Linked DNA regions of Homo sapiens: region 1 is linked to region 2. Evidence: promoter capture Hi-C in 16 types of primary human blood cells and fetal thymus (Javierre and others, 2016). All regions are on one chromosome and are shown on one strand. Each heading gives the region's core, a stretch centred on a gene start or on the middle of the fragment in contact. The rest is flanking DNA. Distances are from core to core; before and after follow the strand shown.

What was found. The method cuts DNA at HindIII sites, captures the fragments that hold promoters and counts their contacts. A CHiCAGO score of 5 or more calls a contact.
Region 1: the fragment with the promoter of CDK19 here is called in contact with the fragment with the promoter of FOXO3 in region 2 in 1 of 17 cell types (non-activated CD4 T cells); the score reaches 6.1 in non-activated CD4 T cells.

What each region holds. Positions count from the first base shown.
Region 1 is chr6:110,813,688-110,818,195 of GRCh38, forward strand. It overlaps CDK19 (cyclin dependent kinase 19), which reads right to left and starts at 1,782. Exons shown (of 13, transcript NM_015076.5): 1 at 1,322-1,782. The coding sequence starts at 1,449. It also overlaps a transcript of AMD1 not described here. RefSeq lists enhancers at 533-642, 877-1,429, 2,003-2,082 and a silencer at 1,053-1,362. The HindIII fragment of the contact is 5,084 bases long and covers 1-4,508 here.
Region 2 is chr6:108,558,515-108,562,661 of GRCh38, forward strand. It overlaps FOXO3 (forkhead box O3), which reads left to right and starts at 2,403. Exons shown (of 3, transcript NM_001455.4): 1 at 2,403-3,315. The coding sequence starts at 2,695. RefSeq lists enhancers at 178-237, 2,880-3,380 and silencers at 768-1,127, 1,168-1,237, 2,217-2,436. The HindIII fragment of the contact is 5,662 bases long and covers 1-3,524 here.

The DNA.
Region 1 (4,508 bases), core at 532-3,031, 2.3 Mb after region 2:
GATACCTTATGACAAAACACTTTATAATAGAGTTGTTTTATGAAGTTAGTGCATACGCACACAACGTACTTTAGTCCTAGAGTTCATATACCAACCACATCAAATTATAACAGCACGCACAAAGATAAGCGGCACTTCAAATTTTACTAATGTCATTGTGGCTGATCATCACTTTATTCAGAAATGGTCCGTTACAATCCTCTTCCGTAGAGTTTGACTCTCTTTAAAGTCTATGCTGGACAGGGCATCTTCCTGGGTCCCTAGCTTTGGGGGAGGGTAATTCCTGCCAGGAAGCTGGTTCCACCAGTCCTGCTGTAGCTGCTGTCTGCCCTCCAGGACCAAGAAAGGACAGGTATTCTCAGTACATTATCCAGCTCTTCTTAAGAGGACAACCAGTAAAGGCTTCCCAAGGTGTTCCTACAGTTCTCCCTCAACTCCTAGGAAAACAAAGGTTCAGGCCCAGCTCTGTCACTTCGTATTCCGTTCTTGATAATATAGGTACTCCATAAGCCCCAGCCCACAGTCATCTGGCAGAGGATGGAGTGGAGGACATAATACCCAAGATACCCAAGGGGCTGCAAGGTAAAGGGTGGGTAGCAGAGAATTCAGCCAACTCTTAAGTTGCCGCTTGCGAAACGCAGCTAGCCCATCAGGTCTCCTTCGAAGGGGGAAGGTACGCAATTCAGAATGTGAGAATGAGAAACCCGGGACGCCGGGCATACAACAGGGATGGGAGGACTGCATAGAGAAGCCAACGGGCCGGCCAGCCCGAAGGGCGGAGATCGCTGCTGGGGGCGGCGGTGCCCAGCGGGTCAGAGCCGTGGGGCTGGCGAGGACCCCAGGCCGCGTTCGCCCGACAGGCTCCCCGGCGAGGTTTCAAACCGCCGCCCCCGCGAGGCGCTCAGCCGATTGGAAGTTCCACAACGACCGTCACTACCCAGGGCCGGAGCGGCAACTCCGCAGCGGAGCTCTGCCTGCCCGCTGCGTTCCCCCAAGAGACTAGACCCCACAAACTCCTCCTCCACCGCGGTCCCAACTCGAGTCCCCCCGCCGTCTCCGAGCACTCGGAGGGCGCCCCTCTGGGACGGGACCGACGCCTCGGACCGGGCTGCGCCGCGGGAGTTCGAGGTACGCGACGGGGCCGCGCGGGGGAGGCGGGCGGAACGGGCGCCCCTCGGAGTCGGTGTCCGGACGCAACCCCGCGACCCCCTCCGCCTCGCCCCTCGGGCACGGCCCGACTGGGATCCGACCCACCCATCCCGCCAGGTCGCGGGCAGGGCGAGGACCCGAGCGAGCCTACTCCTCCCGCCCCTGCTCTTACCCATCTTTCCGCCTCGCCTTGTAGACGTGACCGTAGGTGCCGCGTCCCACTTTGCACCCTTCGTACTCAAACAAATCCTCCACCCGCTCCCGCTCCGCCGCCAGCTTCGCCTTGAAATCATAATCCATTGTCTGCTTCCCCCATAGAGGCACGGGACGCGGGGGCCGCCGCCGCTCAGTCCCTCCTCCTCCTCCCCCCGCGACCGCCGCTCCACTTCTCCAACAGCCGCCTCTCGCGCGCGCGCGCGCGCCGCCCGCCGCCCGCCGCTCCGCGGTCCGCCTTCAGCAAGGGACTCCTCGGCGGCCACAGCAGCCACCTCCTCCACCTCTTCCTCCTCCTCCTCCGCGACGGCGGCGGCGGCTCCCGCAGGCACCCCCAGTCCCGCCTCCCTCCTTCATTTCCTTGTTTTGGAACCTGGTGGGCCGCGCCGTGGCTTCCTCGAGCTCATTAGCGAACTCACTGGCCCGCCCCATGGTCGCGGAGGCTCCTGGGAAATGAAGTCGCGAAGGCCTCAGCGGCCTGGGCGGTTTTGCCGGCGTAAGAAATACAGCTCCCAGGTTACCTCGGGCCACCACAGCCTCGCCCCCACAAAGCATGCGCGCCTGCGTACCAGGGCCGCCCCTCCCCCTCAGGTAGCGCACGGCTCCCGGTTCCTGTGAAGGTAGAAAGCTCGAAGTTCCAGTGTGCTTTCTGCGGTTCTCGGGGAGACACTGGAAAGAAGTGCCTTACTCTAGTGGGAAGGGGATACTTCACTGTAACTAGCCCCACGCAGAGAGTATGGAAAGCATTAAATCAGCACCTTGCTGAAGGGTTGGCTGCAGTGACTCGGGAGGCGAGGGCTGGTGAGGACAGTTGTACCGCAGCTTGTTTCTTTTCTAGGGCAGTGGGTCCGCCTATTGCCCCGCCCCCCGTCCCGCTGCTCATTGGCGGGGGCTGGAGAATGACGTCCTCGTTGGTGCGTGGGTATCCCCAGGCTTTGGCTTCTTTCCCGCTCTTGATTGGTGATTGGATGTGCTCGGTTCTTCCTGATAGGTTGATCTTTTTTCTTTACGATGCAAAAACCGTATTTCAAAAACTGAACCTTCAGCAGTTTCCTAGAGCCTGCCTTGGCCAGAGGAGAACATGCAACTTCTGAGCCCCAGCAGCCAATCATCATTTTCTTGGCGCTGTAGTCAGCTTTCTCTTAGCATATGCGGTTCCCATAACCAGGCTTTGGCCATCTGTCTAAGGACAATTAAAAGTGCCTGGAGGAAGCCGCGTTTACGATCCTTTGGGTTGAATTGTAAAGGATTTTTTATGGTCTATGCATGATGTGAGGTTCTAGAATGTTTAAGAAAGCCCCTTTAGTTAGGGTGAACGTTGATTGATTTCATTGTGTTGGGGCTCAGGACACACTACCCCAAATTATAACTGAAGGAGTCCAGAATATGCCACCCCAAAATACGCCACTCTGGCATATTGATGTCTTTTAGCAAAATAAATTAAGATCCAGCCAACACAGGAAAATGCTTCACTTATCCCACTACTGCCTAAAATAAAGAATAACTCTTCCTTTGTAAAGAGAAATTTACATTTCTAAAGGAAATTTTCGTAATTAAAGGAATCTTACCAGAAAGAGAGCTGCTGCTAGTCAACTTGTATCATCTGAGATACTTTTATCTGCATAAAAGTCAACCTTTATTCACCTTAGACATTTTTTCCTCTTATCCTCTCTTAACTTGTCTCCACCACTCCTGGAAGCCCCAAACCCCACTTTTGTTTTGAAGAGACTGGCCTTGCTGTGTTGCCCAGGCTGGCGTCCAACTCCTGAGCTCAAGGATCCTCCTGCCTCAGACTCCTGAGTAGCTGGGATTACAGGTCCGTGCCACCATGCCGGGCCCCACTTCCTTTTTGAGGTCAGGATGTAATATAAGTGTCAAACATCTGGCCCTTCTTTGAGTCTCATATTTTGTGGGACTCTTGTGCATACATACGTAATTAAAACTTTTTCTCCTGTTAACCTGACTGGTATCAATTTAGTTTATAGACCAGCTGAAGAACCTAAGAGGGTTTCCTCCCCTGTAATGGTGAGCCTAATGTCCCAAATGTTTGGGATACACACTTAAACATGATTGGTGCTAGGATAGGACATAACACATTCATTAGGAGGACAAAGAAGGGAATTGTCAATTCTACCCAAAGTGGTAGATAAGGAAAGAATAGTGAACTGCCTGCTAGGTTTTGAAAGAAACTTGGAAAACTAGTGGGAGGGGGAATGATTTACCTTATTTGCTACATCACCCACTCCTGGAAAACTTCCTTAGACCTTGAGTCTCTTCAGGCTGGGTGCAGTGGCTCACACCTGTAATCCCAGCACTTTGGGAGGCCAAGGCGGGTGGATCACGAGGTCTGGAGTTCAAGACCAGCCTGGCCAAGACAGTGAAACCCTGCCTCTTATTAAAAATGCAAAAATTAGCCAGGTGTGGTAGCATGTGTCTGTAGTCCCATTTACTCGGGAGGCTGAGGCAGGAGAATCCCTTGAACCCGGGAGGCAGAAGTTGCAGTGAGCTGAGACCATGCCACTGCACTCCAGCCTGGGCAACAGAGCAAGACCCCGACTCAAAAAAAAATGGTATCTTTAATCAAGAAAAATCTCAGTTGCTCTTGTTGCCATGCACTATAATAACTGCTGGAGATAGCAGGAAAAAAATTAGTCTTTTTCCATTGGGGAATTAAACCTGAAAAAACAAATATGCAAGCAAATTAAAAATAAACTGTGGTTTAAAAGAGCACTGGTAGAATAGGCGGGGTTCTAAGTGAGTCAGGGTAGACTTCATGAAGTAGGTAGGTTTGAGCCAAATTTTTTTTTCACTCCAGCCCCATCTGCTGAGTGAGAGCCAAAATTTAAAGCATGAGTAAGCCTTTACTTGAAGGACAAGTCGAAGAGCAAGAAACAAGGAATTATTTCAGGTAGAACAGCATGTACATAAATCATGAGAGAACATCATATATTCTGAGAAATGCAACTAGTTTGAATATTACAGATTAAGACAGGAAAAAGTAATGGATAAGAAAATACTAAACAGATAAGCAGAGGTCAAATTATGAAAAGCTATTTATGTCAGGGAGAGGTTTTAGGTTTCATTATTCTGTCGACCTAAAAGGAAAAAGCTGGGGCAAAATTAATATAAGTAGAGAGTTTATTTGA
Region 2 (4,147 bases), core at 1,153-3,652:
GGCGGAGAGCTCCGGGGTCACGCGCGTGTGGATACGATGACATCATCTGTTTGTACGCGTCGAACTAGCTTGGTGCAGGGGCGGGGCCGCGCGTCACTTGAGTGACGGGCGCTGCGCAAAGCCCGGAGCCCGGAGGCGGCTGGGCGGGCTGGCTCTTGCGTACGCTGGGCTGGACCTTTTTGTGTATGGGGTCGTTGAGGAGCCCGCTTCTACACTCTGAGCTATCTCCGGTGACTTACAAGGATTTTTTAAAAAATATATTTATGAACTAGTGTGTAGACTTTTGGTGTGCATGTCGCGTGTGGTGCATTCGTAGAGTACAAATAAACGATTTGGGGCACGGATCGTAGAATAAGGACTTGTGCAGATGTTTTTCGTTTAACCTAAAGGATACGTCTTTTTTTAAAAGTCAAAAATGCCCACGTAGCGGTTTTGTCGTCATTTACAAATTAGATTAAAATTATTTCCCCTTCTCAGTTGTTCGGAATCTGCTCTTGAATGTAGGACGGGGGTAAATTTGCATTTCTTCCGGAGTTAGTTACACCTCTCCCCCGTTTGCCATGAAACCCATGAAAAGTGAAACACGACTGTGGTCCACCGTCCGAGGTGAGAGACTCAGTGCAAACCTTTTGGTGCCTGATCGAATCTGTGAGCATCAGCTTATCGAAGTTGTGCAGGCACCAACATCTTCGCCGTTCAGTATTTCCACACCGCGATAACCCTGCCCATCTTGCGGCCAGCATCTTATCTCGGGTGTTACCTGGTGTCGCGTTCTAACAGGGAACCGGACACCGGGGCTGGCCCAGAGCCCGGCGGGCGGACGCGCAGGCCAGGGACCCCCTGGTACCAGGCGCCCTGCCCGGAGTCAGGGAGGCCACGCCGCTGCGCTCCTTGGAGCGTCGGGGGCTGTGCGCTCCTGCCGCTCCCCCTTCTCCCTCCTCTCCCCACTTCTTCCTCCTCTCCTCCCTTCTCCCCCCTTCTCCCTCCTCTCCCGGGCCAGCGCCGCGCTTTGTTGTCGTTGAGACTCTCGGGAGGGAGGAGGAGCCCAGCGGGGACAGCAGCGGGAGCCCGCCGAGTCCCGGCCCACGGCGCGCGCCCGGACACCCACGCCCGCAGCCCCGCGGAGCCGGGCCGCGCAGGCGCGCGCGAGCTCACACACGCGCACTCACACACGCACGCCCGCCGCGCGCCCGGCCCGCCGCCCAGCCCGCCGCCCAGCCCTCCCCCTGGGCGGGGACCCGCCCGCCGTCAGCCTAGGTTGAGGCGCCCTGCGTGTGTCTATAACTTTGTGCTGCTGCCGCGGCCGCCCTGCTCGTGGAAGGGAGGAGGAGGAATGTGGAAGGTGGCGGCGCGCGAGCTGACAGGCGGTTCCTCGGGCGGGCTGCGGCGACGGCCCGAGCGCTTCTCCTTCGCCGAGGTTGCGCGCCCCCTCCTCGCCGTGCCCCGGGCCCGCGCGGGATCGTGCGTCGTCCCGCCGCGTCCCTGAAGGGAAGGAAGCGAGGTAGGCGCCGGAGCCGTGCAGCGGGCGGCCGCCTTCCCGGTGACTCCGGATCTGCTTCCGAGCTGGGCCGGGCGCTTCCCTTTCCCCTCCCTGAGCCGCGGTGTGCGCGCCCCCCTTCTCGCCCGCTAGTGTTTTTAAAGGACTCGGGAAGGGGGAAACTGTCAAGATGGCAGCAGCGGGAGCAAGGAGGTGATGAACGTGCTGGTCCGGGTTTTCTAGCAGCCCGGGAGACTTGGCGCTTCCCGACCTGTTGGAAGATTTATGTTCCGACTCGCTCCCTCCCCCGGATCCCGACTGGGAAGGGGGCGGAGGGGACGACGTCCGCGAGAATGCAAACCACACAAAACCCCGAAGTGGCCGTCCCCGCCGGGCTCGAACCTCTGCGAACACCCGCTGGGCTGCTGCTCCCCCTTCTTTCTGTCTTTCCTTTATTTTTTGGAAGTGACAAGGGCCCATCTGCGCCCAGACCCCCGTTCGCCCTCTGGCCCGCGGGCGAAGAGGGGAGAGGGAGCTGCCCGCGCAGTCCCCGGGCTCGGGCCATTCGACCGGGTGGGGGGTGACGGGGGGTCGCGGAGGCGGCCAGGCTAGGAAAGGGGAGAAGAGCCGAAGACAGCACAGACTTGAGCGGCGGCGCCGCGGGAGGCACTAGAGCGGGCCCGAGCGAAACATAAACAAACGCACGCACACCCGAGCTCGGGCTCTGACCGCGGCTCGGCTGCGCCAGCTCCGGCCGCTGCCCGCTTTAAAGGCGCGGCCGCCCCTCCCCCGGGCGCCCCTCCCCCTTCTCCCCGCCCCGCCGCCTAGCCCGGGAGGGACCTGCGGCTGGGCGGCGGGGGGAGGGGGCTGCCCCGCGCGAGGCCGTCGATTCGCTCGCGGCTCCATCGCGGCCTGGCCGGGGGGCGGTGTCTGCTGCGCCAGGTTCGCTGGCCGCACGTCTTCAGGTCCTCCTGTTCCTGGGAGGCGGGCGCGGCAGGACTGGGAGGTGGCGGCAGCGGGCGAGGACTCGCCGAGGACGGGGCTCCGGCCCGGGATAACCAACTCTCCTTCTCTCTTCTTTGGTGCTTCCCCAGGCGGCGGCGGCGGCGCCCGGGAGCCGGAGCCTTCGCGGCGTCCACGTCCCTCCCCCGCTGCACCCCGCCCCGGCGCGAGAGGAGAGCGCGAGAGCCCCAGCCGCGGGCGGGCGGGCGGCGAAGATGGCAGAGGCACCGGCTTCCCCGGCCCCGCTCTCTCCGCTCGAAGTGGAGCTGGACCCGGAGTTCGAGCCCCAGAGCCGTCCGCGATCCTGTACGTGGCCCCTGCAAAGGCCGGAGCTCCAAGCGAGCCCTGCCAAGCCCTCGGGGGAGACGGCCGCCGACTCCATGATCCCCGAGGAGGAGGACGATGAAGACGACGAGGACGGCGGGGGACGGGCCGGCTCGGCCATGGCGATCGGCGGCGGCGGCGGGAGCGGCACGCTGGGCTCCGGGCTGCTCCTTGAGGACTCGGCCCGGGTGCTGGCACCCGGAGGGCAAGACCCCGGGTCTGGGCCAGCCACCGCGGCGGGCGGGCTGAGCGGGGGTACACAGGCGCTGCTGCAGCCTCAGCAACCGCTGCCACCGCCGCAGCCGGGGGCGGCTGGGGGCTCCGGGCAGCCGAGGAAATGTTCGTCGCGGCGGAACGCCTGGGGAAACCTGTCCTACGCGGACCTGATCACCCGCGCCATCGAGAGCTCCCCGGACAAACGGCTCACTCTGTCCCAGATCTACGAGTGGATGGTGCGTTGCGTGCCCTACTTCAAGGATAAGGGCGACAGCAACAGCTCTGCCGGCTGGAAGGTGCGTACCCACCCCGGGCTGGCAGCAGGACCCGCCGGGCCTCCTGCGCAGCGCGAGACGCGTCTCGGATTCGTCGGAGTGCGCTTGCGGGCTCCAGGGCAAGGGGTTGGCAGGGGGAGCCTCCGCTGCGAGGCTTTGGGGGTTATCTTTGATCCCCGGAGTCGGGGCACCTGGGGACGGTCTCGGAGGGGTGAATGAGGCTCCCCAGAAGCTTGGGGCATGGCCAGGTGAGGAGAGGGGGCAGGGGACGCCGGCGAGGGAAGGGCGAACGGACAGGAGTACATTTGCTGGATTCTCCGGACAGCACCGAGGAGGTAGGTCCGCAGCCAACTTTGGAGTAGAGTTTACCGTAGTGGGGGTCTGGTGCGGGCGCTGTGGCTGGAGTGAGAGGTGTGGGGGTGTTTGGGACGCAGTGTCTGGAGGAGGGGTTGGATGTGTGGTTTCCAGTCTGTCGCAGGAGCATGTTGCGTCGTCACTAGCTGAATGAGAACCTTCGGGTCCAAGTTTCAGCTTGTGGGTGTTAACACCTACAGGCACATCGATCCGATTAGAAAAAGCAGTGGTTGCAAACCTTTTCCTGGACGGCTTCCTTTCCTTGCCTATATTGATACCTTTTCTTCTCGGAGATGTCGCTCCAGTAAACCTGCTTCTGACTAGCTGCTTCTGAAATGTTCTGGGGCCTCGAACCGGCCGGTCTGGCCACCTCAATCCAGACTGGCTGCACCCGCTGCTCCCGCCGAGGCCTGGATTCAGGCACTGTTTGAGGGAAGGGCTCTGGTGTGGGGGACGCGGGGCCTGCGCTTCATTCACTCTGGCGTTTGGGAGGAGGTTT